Linked DNA regions of Homo sapiens: all the other regions are linked to region 3. The links are contacts of gene promoters, found by promoter capture Hi-C in blood cells and fetal thymus (Javierre and others, 2016). All regions are on one chromosome and are shown on one strand. The core of a region is centred on a gene start or on the middle of the fragment in contact, and the rest is flanking DNA. Distances in the headings are between cores, read along the strand shown.

What was found. The method cuts DNA at HindIII sites, captures the fragments that hold promoters and counts their contacts. A CHiCAGO score of 5 or more calls a contact.
Region 1: a fragment that was not itself captured here is called in contact with the fragment with the promoter of TMOD2 in region 3 in 1 of 17 cell types (monocytes); the score reaches 5.8 in monocytes.
Region 2: a fragment that was not itself captured here is called in contact with the fragment with the promoter of TMOD2 in region 3 in 2 of 17 cell types (neutrophils and monocytes); the score reaches 6.1 in neutrophils.

What each region holds. Positions count from the first base shown.
Region 1 is chr15:51,535,419-51,538,722 of GRCh38, forward strand. DMXL2 (Dmx like 2) reads right to left here. Exons shown (of 44, transcript NM_001378457.1): 10 at 2,795-3,034; 11 at 2,070-2,341; 12 at 748-1,444; 13 at 245-366. Among named protein-coding and RNA genes, the nearest start is that of DMXL2, 86 kb to the right of the region's middle. The HindIII fragment of the contact is 1,194 bases long and covers 711-1,904 here.
Region 2 is chr15:51,559,634-51,563,107 of GRCh38, forward strand. The region is part of intron 6 of DMXL2 (Dmx like 2); the gene reads right to left. Among named protein-coding and RNA genes, the nearest start is that of DMXL2, 61 kb to the right of the region's middle. The HindIII fragment of the contact is 6,262 bases long and covers 1-3,474 here.
Region 3 is chr15:51,750,303-51,753,642 of GRCh38, forward strand. TMOD2 (tropomodulin 2) reads left to right here and starts at 1,295. Exons shown (of 10, transcript NM_014548.4): 1 at 1,295-1,410. It also overlaps a transcript of LYSMD2 not described here. RefSeq lists an enhancer at 849-918 and silencers at 1,029-1,458, 1,509-1,618, 1,649-1,708. The HindIII fragment of the contact is 6,757 bases long and covers 731-3,340 here.

The DNA of each region.
Region 1 (3,304 bases), core at 58-2,557, 210 kb before region 3:
AAAAAATCCTTTTTATTTCTTTTCATGTAAAATGTATTAATGTGTGGTATGTACACTAAAATTTTGATTCATGTACCTTGGAACACAGCTTAGGAAAAAATAAATGTGTCATATATATGTCATATGCAGCCCAGAACATATACTTACTCCCTAAACAGCAACTAACAAACACAGGTCCTAGACAAAGTCAAAAGAGAATTCTTTATCTCCTTAGATAAATTAATAAAGATTATTAAATACTTACTGAAGATTCTGGGTCTGACAATTCATCTAATAATTTCCTTGCATCCACTACAGCTTGATAGAGTCTCAGATTTTTGCCATCAGAAGCAACAAAGCAAGCACTTGCAGAATTGCAGTATGTGCCTGAGAAAGGAAAACAAGGCCTCTGGGTTCTAAACATGTAGTGTATTTTTCTTATTGGCTAAAGGATAAGAAACAAGTATTCACATTTTTTTTAGGCTTAACCATGGTCTAGAATCATAATTAAACAGGCACAATAAGTAGATACAAAATTATTAACAAAAAGTTTAATTAAAAAATGGATTATGAGAGAAAAGGTTAAAAACTTCTGGAAGTTCTAAAAATCAGTCTCATGCCTGTATTCTGAATATTTATTAAAAATCACCTTAATGAAAACTGAATACTTATTAAAAATCTTAATGACAACAAATATAAACCATTTCGTATATAACAAATAATAGTTTAAAAGCTTGTGTTAATTTCACAATTACAATGAACACTTACCTAGACAGTAACTGGGAATGAGAGTTGGAAGCCAAGCCACATTAGAGAACGCTGAGGTATGTAAAGAGTTAATTCGAGCCAATTCTGATACTCCTCCAGTGTATGACAAAGGTCCTATTGGGTCTACACGCCACAGAATAAGTTCACTGTAGATTGCATTTGGGTCATGAAATGTACGAGTTGCTGCATTTCTAAGAGGTTGTTTCGAGGAACCTTTTATATGTTTTACAGGGTCCATTAATCTACTTAATTTATTGTCTGAGTCCCACTGACAATCTAATTCAGGAGTCAATAGAGCATTATGATGAGAGGATGTCAATAACAGTGGTAAAACTGAATGACATGCCAGGTCATTGAGGTGAAATCGATGACCGCAATATCTAAATTTGTGAGATACAGTTAGAACAGTGGTAAAGGCAGACTTATCAGCAAAAGTGACTGCCCACTGATTTAAAGAACCATCTATGTGTTTAGAGATCATCATTACTGTGGGAGCTAAGATGTTCATATGTGTACTGTGGGATCTAGAGTGTGGCTGTGATCCGTGAGGACTGCCTACAGACATCCCCTCCTGGTGTAACAGCGTGTGGTGAGAATCTTTTGTCGCATTTATACAGGCATACATCATGATATTTTTACTAAGAGAGCTTGCATCACCAGAGGGAAATGCAACAGGAATCCGAGAAGAAAAAGAAACCTGAAAAACATAATTATATGATTCAGTGCAAATAGTTTACCTCCTCTCAAAAAAAAGACTTCTATTCTCAAAATACCAAATCTCAGCTTCTTATCAAAAAATGTCATTTTCAACCTCTTTATGGTCCAGTCCCCTTGCTCTATTTAGGTAATACCATATCTCTATTCATGGCCTAAGAGAAGGCTGAAGAAAAAAAGTTCAAGTGCTTTGCTTGTACAACAAAATGACCACAGCCACAGATCTAAATAGCAATAAAGTTGAGAGAGATGACAAAGGCAGCTTCGTTTAGCTCATCAAATTGGCCACAAGGAGGAGCTCATCCTGATTCACATTTTCAGGGTAGTTTCTTAATCTTATTCAAAATATTATTAATTCCCTCAAAAATCAACACATATATTTAAATATTCAGTACTGCATTTCAAGGCCAAATTCATTATCTTCTAACTAATCAAGTTTGCTAAGCTTATGGTCACTGATCCCTTCTGAAAGAAAGAAGTATTCTTTACTCAGATGCTTATCAAAACCAAAATTTTCAGTAATTCTAAAAACATGCTAACTCTACAAAGCATTTATTTCTTTTTACTATTTTAAGAAATGTAATAACTATTTCATCAATAAAATATACCTGAACTTGTCTAAATATTCCAGGATTATATTCATCCAAATACTTCACATGCCACACTAGAAAGGTACCATCTACAGGGTGTATTGTAAAAAGCATATCAGGATTCTTATTCCATTCAGTTAGCAGCGTTTCAATCTTCCGATCAAGCAGAACCGTAGGCAGTGGCATTGGTACACTAAGTCGTGAGTAAGTTCTAGGACTTCCTTCTCTTTCTCCATCTTCATGTTCTGATGATCCTGTACCTGCCTCAGATTCTCTATCCAGGGATAAATCTGAACCAGAAAATATATTTATCAATACAAGCATTAAATAATTCATTTACATACTAGACTATAAATAAATGGCATACTATCTTTAAAAACTAAATCTCTTTTCCAATTTACAGTCAGAAAAAAAAACAAAGGAAACTTTTGTCTGAATTGAATGTTACTACAGTTACTACTTTTAGATAAATTAAAACTTCATTCACCCTATCATTATTACTACCATTTAGCAAAACCTGTTCCCCAGAAAAGGATATGGCTTCCAAAGAACATATAGAGTTAGATGATGTTTGCAGGGGCTAGCAGAGTACCTGATCCAAGGCAGATGGTCAGTAAATACTTGTGTAACAAATAGAAAAGTAAAAAGGAGGAAGAGCGGGAAGGAAGAATTCAAAACTAAAAGTGGTACCACAGAAAGCTGTTAACTTTGGAGTAAGTAAAATCTGAACACAGGATACTAACCATGGTCTAATTTCATATGTAAACCCCGTTCTCTATCCTCCTGTGAATGTTCCTCATCTTCTCTATCTGCATCATCATTTTCATGATCTACCTGCTTATCAGAAAGTTTTCGTAATTGATGCATAAATACTTCTGTAGATGATGTAAAATGAAATTCCTTGTTGTTTAACCAATGAACTACAAAGCCCCCATTTCCATCATCAACATTAAATGCAGTGCCAACCAAGACATTTGGAATATCTGTGGAAATAAAAGAGATTTCAATATAATTTTTTTTATTTCTTTAAAAACATGACAAGTGCTTACAATGACTAATCTATATAAAGAAAAGGTGCTAAACAAGTCAACATAATTTTAGCAGCATTTGTAAAAACTTTAACTGAATTTAATGGTAAATGTAAATCTTAAGAATTAATGATAGACATATGAAATTAAACTATTAACTTAAAAACAAAATACACGAATGCATCAACCTTCAGTGAATTCCAGTTTGGGGACAGGGGATGAAAA
Region 2 (3,474 bases), core at 469-2,968, 190 kb before region 3:
TCGCTTGAGCCCAGGAGTTCAAGGTTACAGTGAGCTATGATCGGCCGATGTACTCCAGCCTGGGTGACAGAGTAAGACTCTGTCTCTAAAAAAACAAAAAGCAAAAAAAACTACACGGAGGTGGTACTTGACATCTACCAAATTTACAAAAGTTTAAAAGTCAGACCACATCAGCACTGGCTAGGAGCAACAGGAACTATTGTATACTATGAGAGTGTAAATTAGTATATCAACTTTGGAAAACAGATTGGTATTATCTACTGAAATTAAAGATACATATAACATATAACCCAGCAATTCTATTCCTATGTATATACCCAAGAGAAATCCACACAAGAGCCTAACAGACATGTACAAGACATCTGCTGCAGCATTATTTAATACATGTCAGAAATGGTATGGCAGATCAATGGAAAAAGAATGAACTATTCAGTAAATGTTATTGAGACAACTTTCATTTGGATTAGGGACTTAATTATAAGAGATTAAAATTTTAAGATTTTAGGAGAAAATAAAAAAGAATACTTTTATAGCATCACAGTAAGAAATTTTCCTAAACAAGATTCAAACTACAATTAACTCACTATATATTGTGGATATTTTTGTAAAATCTTTATACTTCAAAAGTAGATACTGAAATATTTACAGACGAATGACATCAGTGACACAAGCCTAAATAATCCAACTGGGGGAGGAGTAGTACAGATGAAACAAGATTGGCTGAGTGATAACTGCTGAAACTAAGTGATGGGTACATAGGAGTTCAGTACCTTTCTGTTCATGTTTGAAGAAAAATTTTTTTAATTTAGGGCATCATAAATAAAGGGAAAAGAGACCAGCCTGGGCAACATAATGAAACCTTATTTCTACCAAAAAAAAAAAAAAAAAAAAAAAAAAACTAGCCAGATGTGATGGTACACACCTGTATTCCCAGCTGAGGCAGGAGGACTGCCTAAGCCCAGGAGGTCAACGCTGCAATGAGCCGTGACTGTGCCATTGCACGCTAGCCCGGGTGACGGATTGAGACTCAGTCTCAAAAAAAAAAAAAAGAAAAGAAAAAAAAGAAAAACACAAACTCTGTTAAGTTCAGAACTGTGGAAAACTAAATATTACCTTATTTGGGAATTTAGATGAGTGAAACTTTTTTAAATAAAATAATAAACATGAAAATCAGGATTCTGGTTGCCTGGGGTGGGAGGGGAGGAAGGAGATGCATGGAGAAAGATAAAGGACCCATTTGTTTTATGTTCTTTGTCTCAAGTTGAGGAGTAGGGTACATGTGTATTTGTTTATTCTTTATTATATCTTATATAACATGTTTTATATATACTTTTTTAATTTATGAAATATTTTGTAATTTAAAAAAAATCAGAGAATTTTAAAACCTCTTAAAAATTAAAAATTTAATAGCAGAAAAAAATTACTTTGAAGTTACATCTGAAAAGTCCCCCAGAAATTAAAAGAAAAAGATGAATAAGTGGACAACAGTAAAGGGGGAAGATAGTAAAATAGAGAATTAGTGTAAAAGTATCCATATCTGAATAAGAAAAGATTCAGAGAGAGAAAGAAATAACACGAAAGAAATAATATAATCTCTCAGAATTGAAAGACATGAGTTTCAGATTTAACAGGTCCCCCAAATGTCGTAGCGTTAGTTGGATAGTGTGCTTTGGCTTTGATTCTGGGTGAGTGCAGGAGAGTAGTCTTCATACAATTTCTTCAGGTGTAGTCAGTGTCAGTGGTGGCTGTGAGTTACTCATTGGCTTAGGCTGTGGTTGGTAGCAGAGGCTGTAGTGAGGCTTTGCTGCAGACAGGGACACCAGACAGGCCAGTTCTGAGGCACCCGTGGTGGCAGAGGCAGGCCAGGCATGCAGGCCCTTGGGCTCCCAGGCAGCATACAAGACGCCAGTAGTCACAGGTCCAGGAGGACCAGTCCTTGGGCCTACAGGCAGCTTGCTCAGGTGCCAGTGGTTATGGAAAACAGTACGGAGTTTTCTCAAAAAAACAAAACTAGAACTACCATACAGTTCATCAATCCCACTAATGGGTATTTATCCAAAAAAAAGGAAATCAGTGTATCAAAGGGATAGCTACACTCCCATGTTTACTGCAACACTATTCACAATAGCCTAGATATAGAATCAACCTACATGCCCATCAGTAAATGAAGGGATAAATGAAATGTGGTAAATATACACAGTGGAATACTATTTGGCTGTACAAAGGACAAAATCCTATAACTTGTAGTAACATAAATGGAACTAGAAGTCATTATGTTACATGAAATAAGACAAGCACACAAAGAAAAAGTACCGTTATTTTCTCAATCTTATGTGGGAGCTAAAAAAGGAGATGAAGAGAAATTGGTTAATTGGTACAAATACACAGTTAGATAGATGGAATAAGTTCTAGTGTTCAATAGTACAGTAGGGTGGCAATGGTTAACAATAATATATTGTACATTTCAATTAACTAGAAGATTTGAAATGTTACCAACACAAAAAGAGATAAACATTTGAGGTGATGGATATCCTAAATACTCTAATTTGACCATCATTACACATTACGCATGTATCAAAATATCACATGTATCCCATATATATATCAATTAAAAAGTTTATTGAGATATAATATCGAAGGTCAGTGATTTTTCAACCCAATTCTATGCCCGAGAAAATCAAGCATAAGAAAAAAATCTTTCAGACACGTAAGGCCTGAAAAAATGTTTTTTCCCATTCACCTTTCTTCAGGAACCTATTGGGGGATATCTCCATCAAAACAAGAAAAAAGGAAGATAAATGATGCTAAGAAACAGAAAATTTAACAAAGGAGAGAGGCAAAGAGAATTTCCCAAAGTTGGTAAAAGAAAATCCGAAAATGGTAGCTCTGCTATTTTAGACTGGTAGAGCAATTAAGCTGAATGAGAGCAAAGAGAACTCATGTTCCCAGAATACCTCCTATGTGGGATTATACTGAGAAAAGAGTCAAAGCAGTTCTAAGGATGAATTAGGTATATAGAAAAAAAAGCAAACCATAAAACAAAGCAATTACTATCTCCAAAGTAATTACTATTAAGAATAATCTGTACAATCTTAATAACATAAACAATAACTTCTGATTTACCCAAAATCATGAGATACCTACATCAGGAAGATAGGAGCAAGTGAAATGAATATGTGTATATATTAGATGTGAAGATGATGTTGGGGATATCAACCCCTCACCTTTATCAAGCTAAAGCCTCAGCTTCTACAGTGGGAAGGCAAAAAATAATATATATAACTCAGGGGGCTGGGCAGAATCAAGAAATGGGAGCACCTGCAAGTTATTGAAGGACATGGAAGGAAATAGCAAAATATTCAACTTGACAAATAATTGCCTCCTGGACACAGGAATTAGCGTTGGAATAATGAGGCAAGCAGTACATCTTTTCATTGTGAATCCAGTATTATTTTACTTTTTAAGTTATGTACA
Region 3 (3,340 bases), core at 45-2,544:
CAGTGTTATCATTTTCAGATGTGGAATTTCCTCTGCAGCACGTTTTTTTGGCCACACGATTACTGCACACCTCGTGCCAGACAGACTATAAAGCTGTTTCACCTCTTTTCACATTTTGCCTAAAATTTCATATAGAGATTACACCAGCCATGCTGCATCCATCCCTTTGGTTCATTTTCCTCCACTACATCTGTGAATGCAAATCCCACCATCATGTGAAACACTGCATAGCAGCAACTTGCAAAACTCAACGAACCTTAGACTGCCAAGATAAGTCCCATAAGCAAAGGTTATGCTCAAAATATGCTGCAAAAGTTCAAGAAGGAGAGAGATATCACATCTAATTAGAAAAGGCCTCTGGAAGTTAAATCTAGATGCCATGTATTTTCATAATGTTGGTCTTTGTCCTATGTCACCCCACTCTGCTGTCATGCTTCAGAAACTTGACTTTATTTTCTCTATCTTTGGAGCTCTCAAGAACCTGGCAGACAGAACATCTCAGGGTATATTCAGGGATGAAGTGAACGGGCTCAACGACTAACAAACCCAGTGGATTTTAACATTTACCCAGCCCAACGAGGTCCAACTATCTTTAGGTTAGCACGACATATAGGACTTTCCCGGCCCAAGAACTCCCTCGGAAACCCCAAGGAAGGAACTTTCACTGAGTATGCACTAAGTGCCAGATCCTAAGTGCTATGGGTCGCTTAATCCTCACAACACTTTTTCAAGCTTGAAGCCTGTTTTACAGATGAGGACGCGAAGGCTCAGACAGGCTAAGTTGTCCGGTCTCACCTCAGTGAAGCCGCCACTGCGCTTGGGCTCTCCAGCCCCTCACGCCATCACCCTAGAGCCTTGCTAACTTCCACCTCGCTTACCTCCTTCCCTCCCTAGGCTGCCAACCCAACTACTCTCTCCTCCCACGCCCACGCCCAGCCAGGAAAACCTGGGGCGGGCGGGGTCTGTACCTGAGACCGCTCTCAACGCGGCTTCCGTGTCAGGATGCTCGCTCACAGGAATGCTCATCACAGGCTTGAAAGCCTTTGCCATCCACGCTCTCCGGAGCCCCGAGCGTCTCCAAAGAGCCTGCCCAGGCTTCTCCCCGACCCAGGTGCTTCCTCCCCTGCAGAGCTGTGGCGGGGTTCAGACCCCGATTCCGGGAGAGGACACCTGTCGGGGAAGGGCGGGGCTGGGGGACTGCGGGGCCGCGGCGAGGCTCAGCCGGGAACTACGCTTCCCAGCCTGCTCCGCTGCAGCCGCGCGCCCCGGCGCCGCGCCCGGCCGGGAGCCGCCTGTTGATCGCCGCGCTCGCCCCGGCCACGGCGCCGCCCCTGTTCTCCCGGCCCCGCTCCACCGGGGCTGACGGACTGACGGCCAGCACAGCCGGCTCCGGGATGAGCGCACGGACGGGTGAGCGCCCCGGGGGGCGGGTGGGGCCTGTTCTGGACAGCCGGTGTCTGCAGCCCCCGGGCCCGCAGCGCGGTGGCCGCCGTGCCCTCCCTGCCCGCGGGAGGATGCTCCGCGACATGGGCGGTCGGCCGGGCGGGCGTGCAGAGCCGGGCCGCCTCTCGCCTCTCGCCTCCCGGCCCGGTCGGCTGCGCCGGGAGACCAGGCGCTGCGCCCGGGCGGGAGGCGCCCGCCGGGGTGTGAGTCCCGCGCCCCGCACTGCGGTGCCGCAGCCTCTGCAGCCCGCTGGGCCGCAGCGGGGAGGGCGCGGTCTCCTGTCCTCCCGGGCTGCGGGGCTGTGTTCTTCCACTCCGGGCTTTGTTCCCCCACTTTTCCCCTTCCTGTGCATGTTTGGTGAGCTCCTGGAGCGGTATGCATCTCCCTGCCTCGTTCAGCAGGCGATGGGGAGGGGTGGACTGGCCGGCGTCTTTCCTGAGATCGCTGGAGCTGTCACTCGCAGGGCGTTTCAGCCTCCCAGTAAGCGGCCTCGTGCGGATCCTCGAGAACCTTATTATTATTGTTATTACTTTTCTGGTTAAAGTAATTGTAGTATGTGCTCCCTTGAGGCTTCCTAAATGTTCCCTGTTGACCTGCGGAAATGAAGGTGGATTTTTAAAACAGTAATAAAAGGCTTCTAATGGGAATTTTTAGAGTATTCAGAGGTAGGAAGGTGATGCCGTCACAATGCAAATTAGCAGTGAAGGAGGCCGTGCTTACTGCAGCTTCGTCTGTGCCCATTACATATCTGAATCACGAGGCATTTAGGACGGGAATGAAAAGAAGATCGGGGGAGGTGTTTTAAAAACCAGGTTCTCCTCTTAGCTTGACCATTCAGGAGCTGAGGGACCTGGGCAAGTCCCTCCACCTCTCTGGGCCTCTGCATGTAAAGGGGCGTTTGGGCTAAATGATTTGTAAACCTCTGTTCTTCCAAGATTCTCCCCTCTCAGGGAACTGAAAAGATGAGAGTGTTTCTGTTTAACAGCACTACAAAAAGCCTAATTGTGACAACAAGCGCCTCTACCCTAGTGAGGAGGAAAGATTTTTCAGAGCTTCAGCAATCTGATTTTTTTTTAAAGATAAAACTGATTTTCTCGATCGACTCTCTTCAGTCTAACCCAATAAATACGCATTGCAATCATTTTAATTTTTGTAAGGTACTGTACATTGGTGGGCAACAAAATGATGGGGTTTGTTTTTGTCTTTAATTTGCTGAAGGTGAAGTGATGGGATCAGCAGATAAAGGATTAGTGGCTCCCTAGGGCTGGGCACGAGTGGTCAAATGTGGTCAGCATGGAGGTCGGGGAGGAAGCCCCAGCAAGAAGTAACCAGAATGTGTATACACAGAAAAGAGAAGTTGCGTACTGATGGATCATTGTTTGAAAAAGAAATATGCAATAGAAGGAATGAGAGAATCAGGAACTCGGCGCTCTGCAAACCTAACATAACAGTTGAATAAGGCAAGGACTTACCAACTGGTCCAAAACCTTTGAGTGAAAGGTGGTTGGGGAATAGGATTTTCATATTATTTCAAAGTATCTCACCACAGTTTACTCTGGGAAAATTTGTCCTTACAATGGAGAAATTAGGAGGTCACCACTGGAACCAAATGACCAAGTTTAGCAGCATCTACTGCGAGTCTCCCGTTGTGAAGCAATAAGGAGGCATAATTTCACCTCTGTAGTGTTCCTGCAAAAAGACTTGGCGATGGGGCAGAGCAAATGGGAGCAACTATTGTAGGTTAAAATACTCAAGTGATACAATAGTGAATTGGGATGTGTGAACTTTGAATCCTAGATGCAAAAAAAAAAGCTATAAAAGACAATTTGGAGATAGTTGGGGATGTTTGAATATGGATTGCATGTTAGATGATATTATGGAATTGGTGTTAATTTTC